Regions from separate parts of the Homo sapiens genome. Here region 2 is linked to region 1. Evidence: promoter capture Hi-C in human tissues and cell types (Jung and others, 2019). All regions are on one chromosome and are shown on one strand. Each heading gives the region's core, a stretch centred on a gene start or on the middle of the fragment in contact. The rest is flanking DNA. Distances are from core to core; before and after follow the strand shown. Region 1 holds the start of INSC (INSC spindle orientation adaptor protein). Region 2 overlaps RRAS2 (RAS related 2).

Region 1 (4,158 bases), core at 1,066-3,565:
AGGCATGGTGGCTCACACCTGTTATCCCAGCAGTATCGGAGGCCTAGGCAGGCAGATCACCTGAGGTCAGGAGTTCAAGACCAGCCTGACCAACATGGAAAAACCCCATCTCTACTAAAAATACAAAAATTAGCTGGGCATGGTGGTGGGGGTCTATAATCCCAGCTACTCAGGGGCTGAGGCAGGAGAATCGCTTGAATCCGGGGGGCAGAGGTTGCAATGAGCTGAGATCATGCCACTGCACTCCAGCCTGGGCGATAGAGCAAGACTCCATCAAAGAAGGAAGGAAAGAAGGAAGGAAGGAAGGAAGGAAGGAGGGAGGGAGGGAGGGAGGGAGGGAGGGAGGGAGGGAGGGAGGGGGAGAGAGAGAGAGAGAGAGAGAGAGAGAGAAAGAAAGAAAGAAAGAAAGAAAGAAAGAAAGAAAGAAAGAAAAGAAAGAAAAGAAAAGAAAGGAAGGAAGAAAAAAAGAAAGAATGGAAGGAAGGAAGGAAGGAAAAGAGAGAAAGAGAAGGAAGGAAGAAAGGAAGGGAAGGAAGGAAGCTCAATACCATCTTTCTAACTTCCCAGCTGAAAGAGCACATTTAGTCTGGGTACCTCACTGAAGTATTCAGAAGAGAATAGCCAGGATGGGACAGGTCTAGAAGCTCTACTAAGAAGAATAACACCACCACTCAGCTGGTATTTTAGGGCACCTACTCTTCCAAGCGCTGTATAGTGTGTGCCCAGTGGTCACCAGGGGGAGGAGGTCATGGAGAAGATTCTGTCCAGAAAAAAAGATAACCACTGGAAGAAAGGAAAGGAGCAGAGCAAATGCCATCCCTCCACCAGCCTGTGGGAGGGAGACTCAAAGTAGGGTTGAACGAAACCAAAGAAGAGAAAGAATCAACCCAGCTCAATTCACTGTCCTCCCTGCCAAATGGTTGCCTTGGGACCCAACCCAGAAAGGTCACTGCTTCTCTGCAGCAAGTGTAATCCAGAGTATAAACTACAGCATGGAGCAAATTATATATGCTGAGCTCCATGTCAGATCCCAGCCTGACCTGGCTTGCCTTCCAAAGGCAGTGTTTGGAAGTTTTCACTTCTAAAAGGGCGAACAGTGCTTCTAAGTCCCAGAGCTAAAGGGACAAGATGCTCTCTGGCTGAGCTCCATGGACAGCCTCAGTTTCAGATTCAATGGAACCCCTCAAAGGCACCACATCACCATCTGCCCTGACCCCCACAGCCAAAGTCCCTGACTTAAAATATTCCCCACTGAGGCCAGTTTCTTGGACCCATTGTCAGAGGTATAATATATAGATTAAAAGGGGCAAAAGTGGGAGGAGGCTAGCGGCTGAGGGTGGGGCCACACCAGGGATACATTTGCGCATATGCATTGAACAAAGTGGGTGCATGTTGCATACATGTCGTTGTCCACAGGTATACATGTTGAAAGTGTGAATGGTTGCATGGCTATCCTGAGAAGAGTGTGTGCAAGACTGGTGCACATGGACAGGAATGTGTGTATGCTGAGCATGTAAGCGTGGGTGCACTGCGAGTGTTTGTGGGTGGCCATGGCCATATGGTCCACTCATCCCCTGGCCTCCTGTCTCTTCTCCTGGTTTAAGAGTGGGGTCTCCCAAGCTGTCTCCCTGACCCTGGTCTAGCCAGATGGGGTTAGTCAGAGCCACATTCACTCCAGTGTTGTGTGAGGGCTCTGAGCTTCTGTCCTTCTCCAAGCCCTGAGAAACCAAAGCTGAATGACCCACAGAGAAGACACCCCAGCTGGGACAAGTCAGGTCACCTTAGAAAGCCTGAGTTCAGATAACACTCCCTAGCCCCAATTTCTGCCTTCCTGGGTTCACACTGGCACATCCACTCATCCACATGTGGACTGGCTCAGCCCACCTGGGGGCCTTCCTGCCACACACACAGGCATTTCCACAGGTACAGACACAGTGCACCCAGGGCAGCAGGTGCCACACAGGCAAATACCTGTGGCCCACTCCAGGCCACCACACACTCTGACACACTCGTTCACCCACACTCGCACCCTGGGGCACATGCTAGAAAATTCCACATGTGGACATCCCATCCAGACACACTCCCTCACACTGGCGCAAGCTCCCCTTCACAAGCACTCCCACTGACACACTTACACCTACTATCCAATTAGTGACAAACCTGCACTGTTCCCAACTAGGCTAGCAGAGGCATCACCAGCCCCCTGAATCCAGCTAGGGGAGCTGTCTACTTACTTAGCGTGCGAGACAGGCTGGTAGTGCGAGCGGCCAGTGGTGGCGGGGCGCAGCTGGAGCTCCAGAGGCCGCGCGCAAAGTGGCCGCTCTGCCGGCCCAGCCCGAGAGGCCGCCCCTGGCCCCCGCCCCACCCCCCGCCCCGTTCTCCCCCGCCCGCCCTCTCCGAGGCGGTCGCAGCCTCCCAAGGACCTTCCACAGCAGCGCGCTCCCTGCCAAGCCTTGGTCCCGCGTCAGCCACGGCTGCCTGCTGTCTCCGCGGGACTACGAGGCTATTTCGGTGCCCCTGGGGGGGGAAACATGGCCCTCCCTCCCATCTGCAGGAGCGCTGGAATGGGGACGCGGTCAGGCCTAATTAGAGACCGGGCTCCCCCGGGCCAGGCGGCAGGCACCAGGGTGATCGCCCGGGAGCCGCGAAGCCGTCCAGGCGGGGTCGCCCACAAGGTGCCCCGCATGCCAACATCTGGAGAGGGGAAGGGAATGTGCCGCGATCGTTTCCCTTGGAGCTGAAACAAAACAAGGAGGGATTTGGGTGCAGTTCACTTGCTAGGAAGGAGGAAGCCACCCAGCTTTGATAGACCCCAAACGCCTAGAATGAGACGGTTTATTCACCGCAGGTGCTTCCCTCTGGAACCTTGCTCACACACACCTAAGTCACCCTCCACATCTTGGACCTGCCAAAAATGACGAGGGGTTGTTGCAGAAACTCCTTCTAACTTCGGCACATAAGATCAGACCCCACCCCCCACCCCCCACCCCCGTCCTGGACTCTGTCAAATAGCTAAATCTAGAGGAACTTGATTCCTACCCAAAAGCTCGGGAATGTGGCATTTTTGACCTGGAAGAAAGCTTCCAGATCATTTCATACAACTCCCCCTCCCCCGCCTCCGCCATCTTGCTATGAGGCTCCCAGAGCCCAGAGAATCTTGACCTATTCTTGGAGGTCCTCAAGCAAAGGCAGCCCCTGGTCTCCCTTGAGCCCTGTTCCAAAGCTTGAACTCTCTTACTGACAGAAAGATCTCCTTGACATCTAACCTAAATCTCTCACATGCAAACTATGTCAATTTGCTCACAATATGTATTCAGGGAGAAGGAGCTCAACTCAGTCCCCATGACAAAACGACCACGCCGAGGTCCCACTGCAGCCTTCTCTTCCTTAATGCTAATAATCTCTATTTCTTTTTTCAGGCTCTGGCTGAAGCTAACTGCTGCTCCCTGGACTCGAACACACACAGTAGCTCTCTGATATTAACTCTCCTCCTCAGCTCTCTGGGGGCCCAGGGCTCAGAAGGTGGCCAAATCATTCCTCTCAGACAAGCCAGCTTCAACTCTACCCTCCAGTCATCCAGAACAGCCTGATTCTACTCCCCAAGTTCCCTGAGAGGGGCCTCAGTTCCTGTTTCAACAAGTGCTGTCTAGGGCTGGGGACAGGGCTTGGTGCCGCCTGGCTGGGCATTACCACTGAAACCACAGTCTTACAGACTGTTTGCAGAATCTTCTCTCTGAGTCTGTTTCCGGTAGGGCAGGTGGTATGATAAGAATAGTCTCAGCCGGGAGTGGTGGCTCACGCCTGTAATCCCAGCTCTTTGGGAGGCCAAGGTGGATAGATCACAAAGTCCGGAGATTAAGTCCATCCTGGCCGACATGGTGAAACCCCATCTCTACTAATAATACAAAAATTAACTGGGCGAGTTGTCATGTGCCTGTTACCCCAGCTACTCAGGAGGCTGAGGCAAGAGAATAGCTTGAACCAATGAGTCGGAGGTTGCAGTGAGCCAGTGAGCCAAGATTGTGCCACTGCACATCAGCCTGGCAACAGAGTGAGATTGCATCAAAAAAGAAAGAGAGAGAGAGAGAGACAGAAAGAAAGAAAGAAAGAAAGAAAGAGAGAGAGAGAAAAGAAAGAAAGAGGAAGGAAGGAAGAAAG
Region 2 (4,158 bases), core at 1,119-3,618, 790 kb after region 1:
CCTCGGCCTCCCAAAGTGCTGGGATTACAGGCGTGAGCCACCGCGCCCGGCCAAAATCATATTCTTAATAGGATTGAAATGTTTACTTTCTTTTTGATGTTATAAGTGATTTAAGATACGACATAGGAGTTTTAACTGCTTGATTGCTCAGTGCCCTGTCCCCTCCCCCTCCCAAATAGAGGACAACATTTTGCTCTTACTGGAACTCTTAATTTTGTCAAGTCAGCTGGTATAAAGATATAGAACTTTTACCCCTTAAAATTCTTTTACTGATTTAACAAATTTCAGAATTGGTGATACTTGTTTATTTTATGTTTGTATATTTACAATCTTTTCTAAAACTTCATTAGCGTTAGAAAGCACATATTTCCTGAAATGTTTTAGTATAACAATTTGTGTAGTTGAGTTTGATATGTGTGATAACTTTTTATTTAAAATAAAATTTAGGCATCATGTAAAATAGTTAACAGTGGCATACTTCCTGGCATAGAAATTCAATATACAAAATGCTAAAAATTACACAATAGCAGCAGCATTTTAAAAGCTATATAACAGTCTAGTTACTTGTTTTAAGCTGTCACTATTTCCGGTTTTGTGAAAAATAAATATAGCATTAGGTACATGCCCTGAGATTTTCAGATTTGCACATATTCTGTGGAAGCCTTCTTTACTACTATTTTTGGATTCCATGCTATGGGATAATAAGGTCACTTTTTAGCACCATTCAAGAATAAAAAACCAAGTTCTCTCAAAGGGGTTCTAGTACACGTCCATGTTTTGCTGAATGCTATTCTGTAATATTCTTAAAAAACATCTTAAATTCAAGGAAGGAGATGAGAGAAGCATAGTGAGATTCCAGACTTGATCCTCCTTCAAAATGCTATCAGTTGCTGCTCATTCCCCAGCCTCTACTGCATTCCACAATTGGACAGTATTTTATGTAATACTTAGAGTTTTTACAAATCAAGTAGAAGATACAATGGAAGAAGACACCCCTTTTAGAATAGCAAACAAAAAGACTACTTCTACACACTTAAAAAATGTGTGTTAAATTTTTTTTTACAGTCTTCCATACAAAATTTTAAAGCAAACATTAAATTTTTTTAAGACAAAGACTTAAACAGAAAAGCATACTATATTTCCAGATCTGAAAATTCAGATTCTTAACAGTGTCAATTCTAATTGTTAATCTACAAACTTAATGCCATTCTAAAATAAAAATATTGAAAGGAAGCCGGGCACGGTGGCTCACGCCTGTAATCCCAGCACTTTGGGAGGCCAAGGCGGGAGGATCACGAGGTCAGGAGATCGAGACCATTCTGGCTAACAAGGTGAAACCCCCTCTCTGCTAAAAATACAAAAAGCCAGGCGTCGTGGCAGGCGCCTGTAGTCCCAGGAGGCTGAGGCAGGAGAATGGCATGAACCCGGGAGGCAGAGCTTGCAGTGAGCCAAGATCGCGCCACTGCACTCCAGCGTGGGCGACAGAGCGAGACTCTGTCTCAAAAAAAAAAAAAAAAAAATACTAAAAGGATTAAAAGAAACTCCCAACAGTACTCTTGCTGAGGTAAGTGCTAGTGCAAGCTCATTTTGTGGTAAGACAAGGTGAATTCAAGTAACTTCTCCAATGACAAAGCTGGGAAGTGGTGAAGCAAGGCTTCACATCAGGGTAAGTTTGAGGGCTCAGATACGATGATAGCTAACATGCAGTAAGTGTTTATATTATTGTGCATTACCATTCCAGGTGAGGTACTATATATTTTCTCAATTAGAATAGCATCTTAATGTAAAACTTGTGAGGCTTTGCTAGGAAGAATCTAGAGATAATACAGGCTGTGCTTAGAGATTTATGAACCCTTTATAATCTCTCCCCTCAATCTCGCTTTTTTCCACATGCATAAACTAGTTATCCCAGCATCACTTTTTGAGTACTGTTCTATGCTTCCCCTATGATCTGCTCTTCTATTTATATATCGAATTTCATTCATGTGGATTTATTTTTAGGCCTTCTGTTTTGTTCCATTTGTCTTTTTTGCCTATTCTTGTGTCATTTCCATTCTAAATTTCGTAGAGGGTAGGATAAGTTTCCCTGCTGTGTTCATTCAAAAATTCATTCAGCACATATATTGGAGACAACTGCTATGTGCCAGGAACTTTTTAGGTGCTGGGAAAATGGCATTGAGCAAAACAAAAAAATTCTCATGACTCTTACACTTATAAACAATTTCTTGGCTATTTTCTTGCTTATAAATTTTAGGTTCAGCTTGTCAAATTCTATGAAAAACCCAGTAATGTTAAAACAAATTTAAATTGGGTCAGTTAAGGGAGCACTGATACCTTGACAATTCTATCCATGAAGAGAATGCTTTTACACTCATATACGTTTTCCTTTTTTTTTTTTTTTTTGGCCTCTGTTTAAAGCTTAATTATTTCTTTCCCTAAAGGTCTAGAATATATTTTTACTAGAGTTAGTCCTGCATATCATATATTTGCTGTTGCTGTTGTAAATGGTGTCTTTTATTTGACTTAAGCTTTCTAATAGCTTTATACAGAAGTGGTATTTTTTTTTGCTGTTTATTTTTTCGACAGGTTGAGGGGACTATGTAGACTTTTATATCCAAATACCTTGCTGAATTCTAATTCCAATAATTATTATGTATATTGTTTCCTGTGCAGATAATCATATCAAATATATTCTTAAAAATTTGTATACCACTTTATTTTCTTATTAAATTAACTAGGACCTCCAATGTAATGTTGAATAAATATGGTAATAGTAGACATACATACTTGTTCTTGATTTTAATGAGTTTCACTGTAAAAAGTGTTGTTTGCTATAGTTTTTTTTTTTTTAAGACAAATGTGACATTTTCTTATCCTTTTTCCATATCTCTTATAGTGTTTTTCTTTAGTCTGTTCATATGGTGAATTATATTTATAATTTTAAAAAAGTCTATATATTCTGTTCCTGAATTTCTGGGACATATTGGTCATAATGTATATTTTTATATACTGTTGGATTCTGGATTCTGTTTGTTAATATTTTGCATATGGACTCTTTTCATGTATGTTTATTAGTGAAATTGGCCTGTAATTTTCATTTTTTAATAATGTTCTTGTCTGGTTTTGGTATCCAGATTATACTGGCCTCATAAAATGACTTGGGGGGTGTATTTCCTCCTTTTCTATTCTCTGGAAGAATTTGTGTGATACTGGATTTACTTGTTTCCTGAAAGTTTGGTAGACCTTGCTTTTACAACTTTTAGACCTAGTTTGTGTGTGTGCCGGTGGGGGGAAGAGGGGGAAGTTTATTTTATTTTTTCTTCCTTTATTAGTCATAGTGCTGTTCAGGCTTTCTGATTATCCTTTTTTTTTTGAGACAGGGTCTCGCTCTGTCACCCAGGTCGGAGTGCAGTGGTGTGATCTCACTTTGCTGCACCATCCACCTCCCAGGCTCAAGCAATCCTCCTACCTTAGCCTTCCAAGCTGTTGGGACTATAGGCGCATGCCGCTATGCTTGGCCTAGTTTTTTTGTTGTTGTTTTGTTTTTGTAGAGATGAAGTCTCACTATGTTGCCCAGGTTGATCTCAAACTCCTGGGCTTAAGTGATCCTCTCATCTCAGCCTCCCAAAGTGTTGGCATTACAGGTGTGAGCCACTGTACCCAGCCTTCTAATTATTCTTGAATCAATTTTGAGTTTGTATTTTTCTAGGCGTATGTCCATTTTGTCTGTGCTTCATATTTATTGCATAAAGTTGTTCATAGTATTCTCTTTTAAATGTCTCCTCTAGCTGTAGTTATGTTCACTATAGTCTGTCCTTTAGTTCTCCTTAGCAGTGTTTGAAGAGATACGCTTTTTAGTCCATCTATTGAATTTTTACCATTAGGTTATATTTTTTATTTCCATAAGTTCTGTGTGTTTCCTCTTAAGATCTTAGTGGTCATTCTTTAACTTTTTATTTTTTAAATTCACATTTGTCTTGATTGGATTGATGGTCATTTTTTATAGCCTCTTGCTCACTTGTTTGTGATTTCATTTATTTTTAACATTTAATCCGGAATCTTGATGGGTATGGCTGATAAAATTTTAACAATGGTTGTTATGTACTTCCCTAATAAGTTCAAGATAAATTAGACTGTGACTACTTTAACACATAGATA

Evidence for each region. The method cuts DNA at HindIII sites, captures the fragments that hold promoters and counts their contacts. A contact is called where the count stands out against the background at its distance.
Region 2: a fragment that was not itself captured here is called in contact with the fragment with the promoter of INSC in region 1 in 1 of the 25 tissues and cell types used here (aorta).

What each region holds. Positions count from the first base shown.
Region 1 is chr11:15,113,080-15,117,237 of GRCh38, reverse strand. INSC (INSC spindle orientation adaptor protein) reads right to left here and starts at 2,315. Exons shown (of 13, transcript NM_001042536.3): 1 at 2,235-2,315. RefSeq lists enhancers at 2,608-3,141, 3,793-3,842. The HindIII fragment of the contact is 4,237 bases long and covers 955-4,158 here.
Region 2 is chr11:14,322,673-14,326,830 of GRCh38, reverse strand. All of the region lies in intron 1 of RRAS2 (RAS related 2), which reads left to right. Among named protein-coding and RNA genes, the nearest start is that of RRAS2, 34 kb to the left of the region's middle. RefSeq lists an enhancer at 3,442-3,521. The HindIII fragment of the contact is 4,046 bases long and covers 346-4,158 here.